Regions from separate parts of the Homo sapiens genome. Here region 1 is linked to region 2. Evidence: promoter capture Hi-C in 16 types of primary human blood cells and fetal thymus (Javierre and others, 2016). All regions are on one chromosome and are shown on one strand. Each heading gives the region's core, a stretch centred on a gene start or on the middle of the fragment in contact. The rest is flanking DNA. Distances are from core to core; before and after follow the strand shown.

Evidence for each region. The method cuts DNA at HindIII sites, captures the fragments that hold promoters and counts their contacts. A CHiCAGO score of 5 or more calls a contact.
Region 1: a fragment that was not itself captured here is called in contact with the fragment with the promoter of DDX47 in region 2 in 1 of 17 cell types (non-activated CD4 T cells); the score reaches 5.9 in non-activated CD4 T cells.

What each region holds. Positions count from the first base shown.
Region 1 is chr12:11,549,746-11,555,370 of GRCh38, forward strand. LINC01252 (long intergenic non-protein coding RNA 1252) reads left to right here. Exons shown (of 8, transcript NR_033890.1): 3 at 2,835-2,948; 4 at 3,821-3,937; 5 at 4,104-4,325; 6 at 5,510-5,625. The region is part of intron 2 of LOC124902877 (a long non-coding RNA gene); the gene reads right to left. Among named protein-coding and RNA genes, the nearest start is that of LINC01252, 4.5 kb to the left of the region's middle. The HindIII fragment of the contact is 5,644 bases long and covers 363-5,625 here.
Region 2 is chr12:12,810,276-12,815,694 of GRCh38, forward strand. It overlaps DDX47 (DEAD-box helicase 47), which reads left to right and starts at 3,071. Exons shown (of 12, transcript NM_016355.4): 1 at 3,071-3,179; 2 at 3,856-3,949. The coding sequence starts at 3,093. RefSeq lists an enhancer at 2,898-3,207. The HindIII fragment of the contact is 15,992 bases long and covers 1-3,878 here.

The sequences.
Region 1 (5,625 bases), core at 1,935-4,434, 1.3 Mb before region 2:
TTTTTGTATTTTTCTTAGTAGAGACAGGGTTTCACCATTGTTCGTCAGGCTGGTCTCGAACTCCTGACCTCATGATCCACCCACCTCGGCCTCCCAAAGTGCTGGGATTACAGGCGTGAGCCACCGCGCCCAGCCTCAATAAGTATTTATTAAGTGTATAACACATGGCAGAAACTGTGCTAGATACTGAAACTATAATGGCAAAAATCAATTCCTGTCCTCTGAATTGGTTACCTAGTAGAGAAGACAGACATGTAAACAAATATAGTGGAGAGTGACATAGGCAATAATAAAACTATGTATAAGAAATCCAATTAGTATGGATAATTAACAACTAATGGTTGGAAAGAAGTGTCAAAAAAAGCTTCTTAGATACAGTGACACCTGAGCAGGATTTCTAAGGGTGCACTGGGGAAAGAGGTTCATAAATCAAGGGAGCATCATACTGAAATGGTAGTGATGGAACATGGTATATGCAGACAACTACAAAAATTCACTTCTACTGATAGTCCAAGGGAGGAAGGCATGAATATGAGAATGGAGGTATGGACAGAGGCCAGGTCAGGGTAAGTTAGAGAGCTTACTTAACCTTGTAGAAAATGACGAGCCATTGGAGACTTTAAAGAGAAATAACATAGTCATATTCTTGTTGTGAAAGATCATCTGGGCTGCTATGTGCAGGACAGATTACCAGGAACAAAACCAGAAGCACCTGTTCAAGCCTGAATTCTAGTCACAGAAGTAAAGCTGAAGAGGAGAAAATGGATGTGAGCAATATCCAAAAGGGAAAATAATAATATACACATAAGGAATAGGGAAGAGAAGAGCAAAAATAATTTCCTATTTCGCCTTCCCTTCTTTTGGAGTTGGAACACTCAAATGGTGTGATGGGTGGCACTGGGGCTAAGGGGACAAGGCTGGCCCAGCTGGGAGATTGCTTACATGCAGGAGGATCAAGTGAATGAGTCAACGTATCAAGGAGACTGGGAATGCAATTTCTCACTGTTGAAGAAAGGAGTTACAAATATGCAAAGGGGAAAATGTGATACTGGATTGGAATTGAAGGCATTAGTCCGAAGTTATGGATTTTAAAGATAGGAATGTGACAGATGATAGATAGGTAGGGATAGACAGGTAAATTGAGAAGTAGAAATGTATGAATGTGTTATATTTCCTAGTCCAGGAGCAATGACACCCCAGTTGCAATGAGCATCCTAGCATTTAGATCTCAGTTTCTAAATACCTTTTTCCACTAAAAGGAACCAGGGCTGGGGCAGGGAAAGAACAAGATGACCCTGGAACTCTATTGTACTGAAAGTAAGGAAGCCCTCAGATAATTATGAGGACATGTCTAAAGGACACAGGAGTGGCTCACGCCTGTAATCCCAGCACTTTGGGAGGCCAAGGCGGGTGGATCACAAGGTCAGGAGATCCAGACCATCCTGGGTAACACGGTGAAGTCCCATCTCTACTGACAATACAAAAAAATTAGCCAGGTGTGGTGGCGGGCGCCTGTAGTCCCAGCTACTCGGGAGGCTGAGACAGGACAATAGCGTGAACCCAGGAGGTGGAGCTTGCAGTGAGCCGAGATCACACCATTGTGCTCCAGCCTGGGCAATAGAGTGAGACTTCCTCTCAAAATAAATAAATAAATAAATAAACACAGGAGCCAACTTCATGGGGCTCCAGTTGTCCACATCTAGGTCATTTTGTGGATCAAAATAAAAAATGATAGTAACTGATTATAATTCATTGAAAAATCAAATCTCATGAATCCATACTTATATAATACATGAATGAATAAATATGAGAGAGAAGAGAGAGCTCTAACTTATAGTAAATGCCAACTAATCAATGTAAATATAATTATGGAATTAGAAAATTGTTATTATTTTGAGACAGGGTCTTGCTCTGTCACCCAGGTTGGAGTGCAGTGGTGCAGTCACAGTTCACTGCAGCCTCAACCTGCTGGGCTCAAGCAATTCTCCCACCTCAGCCTCCCAAGTAGCTGGGACTTCAGGCGTGTGCCACCACACGGCTATTTTTGTATTTTTTGTAGAAATGAGGTTTCATCATGTTGCCCAGGCTGGTCTCAACTCCTGGGCTCAAACAATCCACCTCAGCCTCCCAAAGTGCTGGGATAATAGGCATGAGCCACCACACCCAGCCAGAAAATTATTATTTTGCAACCATTATAGTTATAACTAATTTAGATAGAATCATCATTGGATGGAAAAGCTAGTAGGTGAAAATTTGATGAGGAAATGGATACAATCTCAAAGTATCTCCCCCAAAATATTTAGTGCTTATTAGTAGTTTAGAAATACAAATTACTTACTAGTTAGCTCTATAGCATAGAAACCTAGCCAATATCATCTTAATCGAGTGCTAACATATAATGTTGTCTATAAACAGGATAAATCTATATTAAGTTACTCTAACAAACTGAGAAAACACAGCATCATTTCTGTGAACGTCCTGCCAAAAACGCACCACCCAAATCTGACAATAAGGTAACATCAGACAAACCCAAACTGAGGGACATTCTACGAAGTAATTAGCCTGTTCTCTTTAAAAACACCCAGGTTATGAAAAACAAGGAAAGAATGAGAAAATGTTCCTGATTAAGGGAGACTAACAGAGATATAATGACTAAACACAACACATGATCCTGGGTTGGATTCTGGAATTATAAAGAACGTTATTGTAAAATTGGTGAAATCTGAATGGAGTCTACGGATTGTGGCTTTATTACATCAATGTTAAATTCCTGATCTTTTTCATTTCTTTTTCCTTTCTCTTTTTTTTTTTTTTTTTTTTTTTTTTTGAAACAGAGTCCCTGTCATCCAGACTGGAGTGCAGTGGTACAATCCCGGCTCACTGCAACCTCCACCTCCTGGGTTCAAGCGATTCTCCTGTCTCAGCCTCTCAAGTACCTGGAATTACAGGCATGTGCCACCGCACCCCATGTAATGTCCCGATCTTGATGGATGCACTCTGGTTATAGAAATGTCCTCATTTTAAGGAAATACATGCCAAAGTAGTAAAGGCTCATGGGGCATCATATTTGCAACTGTTCTCACCTGGTTCAGAAAAATTTAAGAGCAATAATACGTATAAATGTGTAGATAGAATAAGAAGACAAACATGGTAAAATGTTAACAACTGGGGAATCCGGATGAAAGGTGTACGGAAGCTCTTGTGCTACTACACCTGCAACTTTTCCATAAGTTTGAAATTGTTTCAAAATGAAAAAAATGTACAAGTATCCTAGAAAATGCAAACTCATCCAAAGTGACGGAAAGCAGGTCACTGGTTGTCTGAGTGGGATGGGCCAGAGGAGAGAGGAGTCAGGATTACGAAGGGGGCACAACAAGGAAACTTGGTGGGGAGGATATGAATATCCTTTTTTTTTTTTTGCTTTTTTAGAGACAGGGTCATGCTCTGTCACCCAGCTCATAGCTCACTGCATCCTCAAACTCCAGGGCCCACGGGATCTTCCTGCCAAGCAACTGGGACTACAGGCTCAGCCCACCATGCCTGGCTGTTTTTTTTCTTTTGGTGGAGATGAGGTCTCACTATGTTGCCTGGGGCTGGTCTTGAACTCCTGGTCTCAAGGAAATCCTCCCACTTATGACTCCCAAAGCACTGGGATTACAGGCGTGAGCCACCTTGCCCAGCCATGTTCATTATCTTGATTGTGTCAGTTGCCTCTTTGGTGTAAAATAGGTCGAAATTTACTATGTTGTACACTTTAAAAATCTATTAATAGGTTAAATAACATGAAATAATTGTTTTTTAATTCCTAATATTTGCCTAGGGAATACAACCAACCTCTTCATCACATGAAGACATTTTTTTCATGCTTTTCCATGTTCCTGAAATGCCCTCCCCTAGGAGCTTCCTCCAATTTATCTACTCTTTCACATTCAAGAAGGTAATGGAGTTCCATCTTCCTCCATTAACTCCCCCATACTGAAATCTGCTATATCTTTCATTCATTTGAATCTTATTGTTACAGTACATACGATGGAAATCTATAATATTTTTATTGCTATAGTTATCATTTCAGTTGTTATGTTTTCTGCTTATTTTTGTATCAGAGTTGAATCAAGATGTTTAAGTCTCTGGAGAGTTAAGTATTTTGTAGGAGGAAGAATATCAAGGTTGTGGAAAAAAAAAAAAAAAAACCTTGTTGTGGCTGAGAAACTGGGCTGGAGTCAGGAGGCTGGTGATGGCCCCAGTTCTACCACTAACTAGCCATGTGCCTACGATGCTTCATTTCACCTCTTGAGATCTAAATTTCCCCGTACGTCAAAGCAAAGGTGAGGTCAATGTCATCTATGAAATGTTCTTGACTTTCAAATTATTTGAGTAGTGGCCGCTAGATGGAACCCGTGAACCCATATCCATACATGAGCATTTCAAGGAGAGGTGGTGCTGAAGCAGGAAGCCAAAAAGCCAGGGTGACAGATTATCCTGTGCTTCGTGCAACAAGGATAGTCTGTAGGAACAACAACAAGAGAAGTTGTCTCTCTCAGACAATGGTGTCCTAGCCTAGACATGTGGGCTAGGAAATTAGTGATCAGAGGAAATCAGACCAAAGCCAAAGTCAGAGACATTTTCTGTTCTCCTCTTCACTAAACCCCAAGGCTCTTTAGCATGAAGTATGCAGACCCTGTGTGATTTTCTGTGTTATCTAAAGTAAAACTTATTAGAGTTCCACGTATTTTTAACCAAATATGTTTAATGAACGTTGTTCTGAGAGAAAGGGGATTCCAGTCGCTTCTGTCAGAGGCATTCAAGGATATGGAGAGAAATAGCTTTTTAGAATTTGAAAATAAAATTTCTATGAAATTGGTCAAAATGGATGAGAAGGAAAAAACCTCTCAAGCGGTAAGTAGGTAGAAAAACGATCGCTTTGTGCCATTTTTATATGTTAACAAATTATGTTAACATTTATTGAACACATCAAACCCTGCAGTATAACTGATTCTTCAATAAGTGTATACAAGTCACACATAGAATGAGTGGCATGCTGGGTGCTCCCTGAATAATCCTTTTCTTTTACCAGTTAAGTTTCCTGCTGAATATTTCGAAACTCTTTGCAAACTGACTTCAGCACCTCTGTGGGATATTCCCTTCCACTGCCAACCCTTAGTTGTCAGAAACTCTGTCTTTGGGAAGCATGCTACATTTTCTAGAACAAATCTAGATACTTTAGAAATGATGGATGATGATGATGATGATGAATGATGACAACACTCTGATGCAATTCATATATCACAACATTATCCAGATCCAACAAACACTGAGAAAATGGTGTTTTGCAGCAATTTTAATTCCTTTATTTCTCAAACATCTTTGTCAATAGTCATTTTTAATGTTATGTTATAGATGATGGAACAATCTTAGAGATGTTAAGTAACTGGTACTAATAATACAGATGGCAAAGACAGAATTCAAAATCTGGAGCTCTTGATTTATTTTACTTTATTTTATTTTTTAGAGACAGATCTCGCTTTGTCGCCTGTCAACGGCTAGAGTGCAGTAGCGTGATCATAGCTTACTGCAGCCTCGAACTCCTGAGCTCAAGCAACCCTCCCTCCTCAGCCTTCCCAGGTC
Region 2 (5,419 bases), core at 1,821-4,320:
TTGTCTCTTAGATTGTTGGGGACCAGCCTCAACACCACCCGTAGGGTACCCAAAGTCCGGTGGCAACAAAGGAATGAGAAGAGACAGGTTAAGAGTGCATAAAGAGTGGGGGCCGGGGGGCCAATTGCAAAATGGAGGCTGCAAAAGGCCCAGAGTTCTGGTCTTCACTCTATTTATTGAGTACAATCCCTTAGATCTAAGAAGCAGATGTTTAGGGTGAAACAGTGAAAGGGAGGCAGTATGTCATAGGCGTAATCTATAGCAATGGCTGTTTAAATGAGTCTCCTTTGTTCTCAAACAGCATATCTTTAACTTATCGAAGAGTAGCTAGTGGGAGTGGGCTTAACTAGGAGCCTGAACGTCTGTCCACATTTCAATGCTTCAAAGGAGTGTCTTTCTCCTTGAACACAGTGTTTATAGATAAGAGAGCAGGTTGCGCTCAGAGCATGGGAACATAATGGCGATAAGAAGGCTTTCCTCCTCAGAGGCCTTTTGTGACTTGCCACAACTTATTGTCCCATATTTTTATGGCCCGTTTATGCAGGCACCCCACAAGCCCTTTTCCCAACATAGATCAGGGGTCCCCAGCCTCTGGGCCATGGACTGGTGCCAGTCCGTGGCCCGTTAGGAGCTGAGTTGCACAGCAGGAGGTGAGTAGCAGGTGAGCAAGCATTACTACCTGAGCTCCGCCTCCTGGTAAATCAGCTGCGGCATTAGATTCGCTTGGGAGCACAATCCCTATTGCAAGGGATCTAGGTTGCGTGGTTCTTATGAGAATCTAATGCCTGGTGATCTGTCACTGTCTCCCATTACCCCCACATGGAACCATCTAGTTGCAGGAGAACAAGCTCAGGGCTATCACTGATTCCACATTATGGCAAGTTGTACAATTATTTCATTATATATTACAATGTAATAATAATAGAAATAAACTGCACAATAAATGTAATGTGCTTGAATCATCCTGAAACCATCCCCGCCCCAATTCTGTGCAAAAAATGTCTTCCACGAAACCAGTCCTTAGTGCCAAAAAGGTTGGGGACCGCTGTCTTAGATGGTCTCCTTTTCTCACTCTTTCTACAGCCTATCTCCATATAGAGTTAGAGTAATATTTTAAATGTGTAGATCATGTCTCTTCCCTGCTCTAAACCCCCAGTGGCTTCCTTCTGCATTTAGGATAACATCCAAAACCCCAGACCTTTTACAACAGGGTCCTGCAGAGTCTGAGCTGAGCCCAATTCTCTGACCACATCCTACCCTTTTTGTTGTTGAGACACTGCTGTGATGCCTAAATCAGGGCCCTTTTTTAGTTGTGGTGGTGGGGAGGTCGGCAGGCACATTGAGTTGAGTTCCTCACAATTCTCAGGTCAAGCACACTGGCATCACAAGTCTCCTCTCTTGCTTTGTGTATTTATTATCCTTTTTTTTTTTTTTTTGAGACGGAGTCTTGCGCTGTCACTCAGGCTGGAGTGCAATGGCATGATCTCAGCTCACTGCAACCTCCGCCTCCGGGGTTCAAGCAATTCTCCTGCCCCAGCCCCCCGAGTAGCTGGGATTACAGGCACAGGCCACCATGCCTGGCTAATTTTTGTGTTTTTAGTAGAGACTGGATTTCACTATGTTGACCAGGCTGGTCTCGAACTCTTGACTTCAAGTGATCCATCTGCCTTGGCCTCCCAAAGTGCTAAGATACAGGTGTGAGCCACCGCGGCCGGCCTATTGTCTTATACACTTAATTCTTTTATTCCCAATTCCCAGTTTTATTCTAATTCTTCTCCCTCTGCAGGCAACCATTCTAAAATATTTCAAGTGTATCTTCTGTTGGATGTGTTTTAGCAGAATGTGATATCTGTGGGCCTATATTTTAATATACTTGATATATTTTATGCTTTTCTCACTAAGCACTAGGTTTTTCAGATCTAATCATATTGTTAAGGGCATGTTTGTAGACACCATGTTCACATTTTAACTATGCATTTTCCCAGTGACGGACACCAGATTGCCCCCAACTTCCCATCCTCAGGAATAAAACTGCAACGAGCACCCTGCGCAGTGTGAGACCCAAGTGACAGGCCACAGGAGGGCACTCGCTGGCCATGGGGCATGCAACATACAGCTCTGAATTTGCTGCTTTCCAGAATAGCCTTAGTAGCTTCACAGTCTTGGTACTTGGAATTCTCTCACTCTGGAATGATTATCTCCTGGGATCTTAAAGCGTTTTCTCCTGCTCAACAGTGAGGTCTTAACTCAAATATCACTGTCTCAGAGAGGCCTTCCCAATCTCACAGTTATCCCCACAACCCACCCTCCCCAGGTTACTCTGTAATTTTTATGTGAACAGGGTTTCACTCTGTTGCCCAGGCTGGAGTACAGTAGCACCATCTCCACTCACTGCAGCCTCAACTTCCGGGGTCAACTGATCCCTCAACCTCAGCCCCCTGAATAGCTGGGATTACAGGCGCATGCCACCATGCATGCCTGACTGATTTTTGCATTTTGCAGACACAGGGTTTCGCCACGTTGCCCAGGCTGGTCTCGAACTCCTGGGCTCAAGTGATCCGCCCGCCTCGTCCTCCCACAGTGCTGGGGTTACAGGCGTGAGCACACCCAGCTACTTTTCACAATTTGAAATGCTCTGTGATAGCTTATTTATGATCTGTCTTCTTTTTCTTCACGAGGGCAGGGGTCGCTGTCCTATTCACCAGCCATCTAGCATAGCCTTAGCAAATGGTAGGTTCTCAACATTATTGAATAAAGTAATGACATAATAAAAAAATAGTATTGTAATATCAATCCGTTCCAAACTCTATGGTTAGAAAAGCGGGGAACATAACTGGCGACACACGTAGGGAAGGCTCTTTAAAAGGGACCTAAAGGTCAACTGGAGTCCCTGGTGATCAGCCCCTTCTGCACTCGGATCTATTCCGCAAGCCTACGCGCCCATATTCACTGGGCCCCACCTGCCTAGCGGACGGGTGCAATCCCCGGCAAGCCCGCAGGGGGCGCGCAGAGCACGTCGTCCGGGGAGAACTAAAACTACATTTCCCAGCATCCCGCGCGCCGCAGACCCACTTCCGGAGACCTCACACAAGATGGCGGCACCCGAGGAACACGATTCTCCGACCGAAGCGTCCCAGCCGATTGTGGAAGAGGAGGAAACTAAAACATTTAAAGACCTGGTGAGAATGGATGACGCTGGCTTCTTTTATGTACTCTGGTGCTAGGCTCAGGGAGACCCCAGGTACCTTAGATCCCGCTCTGATAGTGTACAAAAGCATCTTGGGGCCTAGCTTGGGTTTTCCCCAGAATTTCAGAGGGCTGGGTTTCGGACGTGCTCTGAGTTTGGGTGGTGGGAGGGCTGCTGGGCCCTGAGACCCCCTATTTGCCCTATTCGCCACTTTAGTGTGGCAACGTTTGTATGTGCATCCAGGAGGTTGTACATATGGGGAATGGAATTGGTCTCTTTATAACTGGAGCTTTGGAGTCAGATGAACCAACCAGATTTGAATTTTGACACAGTCTCTTACTGAGGACAAGTTGTTACCTCTCTGTGTTTCTCTTTCCACATCTGTAAATTGGGGATAGTAATAAGTACTTACCTCGCAGAATTGTTGTGACGATTAAATGAGATGATACATGTAAAGCACCTGGCCTTGGCCTTGGTGAGCAGAAAGTGTTCGTTAAGTCTTGAGCTACTGTCTCATGGTATAGTTAAAGAGTAGGCTCTGAGATGCACAGTAAATACCTTTTAAATCAAATACAATGGTTGTACATGATGGGTCTGACAGTCAGTTAAGTAGGAGGGAGGTAGGGGTGTGCTGTTCTTGGCTAAGGTATATTTTTCTGAATTCCAAGGGTGTGACAGATGTGTTGTGTGAAGCTTGTGACCAGTTGGGATGGACAAAACCCACCAAGATCCAGATTGAAGCTATTCCTTTGGCCTTACAAGGTAGGTTGTATGACTTCGTACAGATTTAATATAAAGTTATCTCAATTAGATACCCCTTTTGAAAGCTGTTGCTTGCATACTTCAAGTGAAATAAGGATATGGTCACTAAAGGTACAAAGTTTGGGTAATGGTATTTGAAAATGTCATTCTCCAATTTTACTGAGCTTACTTTCTGTCTTAATAGCTGAAAGGGTTTGTTCTCTGCCACAGATGCTGACTTTAAGGAAGCCCTAGGTTAAAGTTAAAGTATATTAACGACAATCTTGGTAGACTTTATGCATCAGTGGGCGCACACTTAGGGAAGGATGCCTGGAACACATATGTGTGTCTTGAGGAGTTGAGAATTCTTGCTGTGAGCCATGTTTATCAGATTTGTAAAACAGTGGTTAAAGCAGATTGATGGCTACTGGAACTGAAACTAATGGGATGAACTTTTTTCTTTTTGAGATCTTTTTTTTAAGATGGAGTTTTTTTTGAGATAGAGTTTCGCTCTGTCGCCCAGGCTGGAGTGCAGTGGTGCGGTCTTGGCTCACTGCAACCTCTGCCTTCCAGGTTCAAGCAACTCTCCCGCCTCAGCCTCCCAAGTAATGGATTACAGGCGCATCACCATGTCCGGCTAATTTTGTATTTTTAGTAGAGATGGGGTTTCAGCATGTTGGCCAGGCTGGTCTCGAACTCCTGACCTCAAGTGATCTACCTGCCTTGGCCTCCCAAAGTGCTGGGATTACAGGTGTGAGCCACCACATCTGGCTGTAACAGGATGAACTTTAATAGGAGTAGAAGTAAAGTCCTGCTCTTAGATTCCTAAAGTACCAACTTTACAGGATTAGGGTGGGTGATAAAAGAGGCCCAGAGGTCTTAGTTAACTGAAATCTATTAAGATCCTCAGAGAGAGTGAATGTAATCATAGCAATTGTTATAAGAGGGGTAATGTGGCTAATTATTGTTAGTATTAATGTAGCTATTACTGTATTACTATATTATTAGTGATTAATGTAAGCTATAATTATTACTCATTAGTAATTAATGTAGTGATTATTATTGATAATAATTGAAAGATTTAATGATTTGAAGAGCTGTCATGTGGAAAAGGGGTTAGACTTACTCTACAAAATTCCATTTGCTCTTTCCATAAATAGTTACTATTTGTTGTAAATGTAAGGCACTGGAGGTTAACAGTCTGTCCTCTCCAAGAGTCTATAATCTATTAAAGAGATAATTATAAATTTATTACAAGTTGAACAGGGACCTAAGAAAGTTACATTCAGAGTGCACTGAGGGAGAAGAGATTACTTCTAATTAGGATGGATTAGAGAAGATTTATTTCATTTTATTTTTGGCTGGGGAGGTTGGGAAGACATGTGAGCTGAACCTTGAACACTGACTTTAGAAGGATTTAGACATTCAGATATGATGGGAGGGGAGGACTTTCTAGGCATAGGGAACAGCATGAAAAAAAGCCAACTGGAA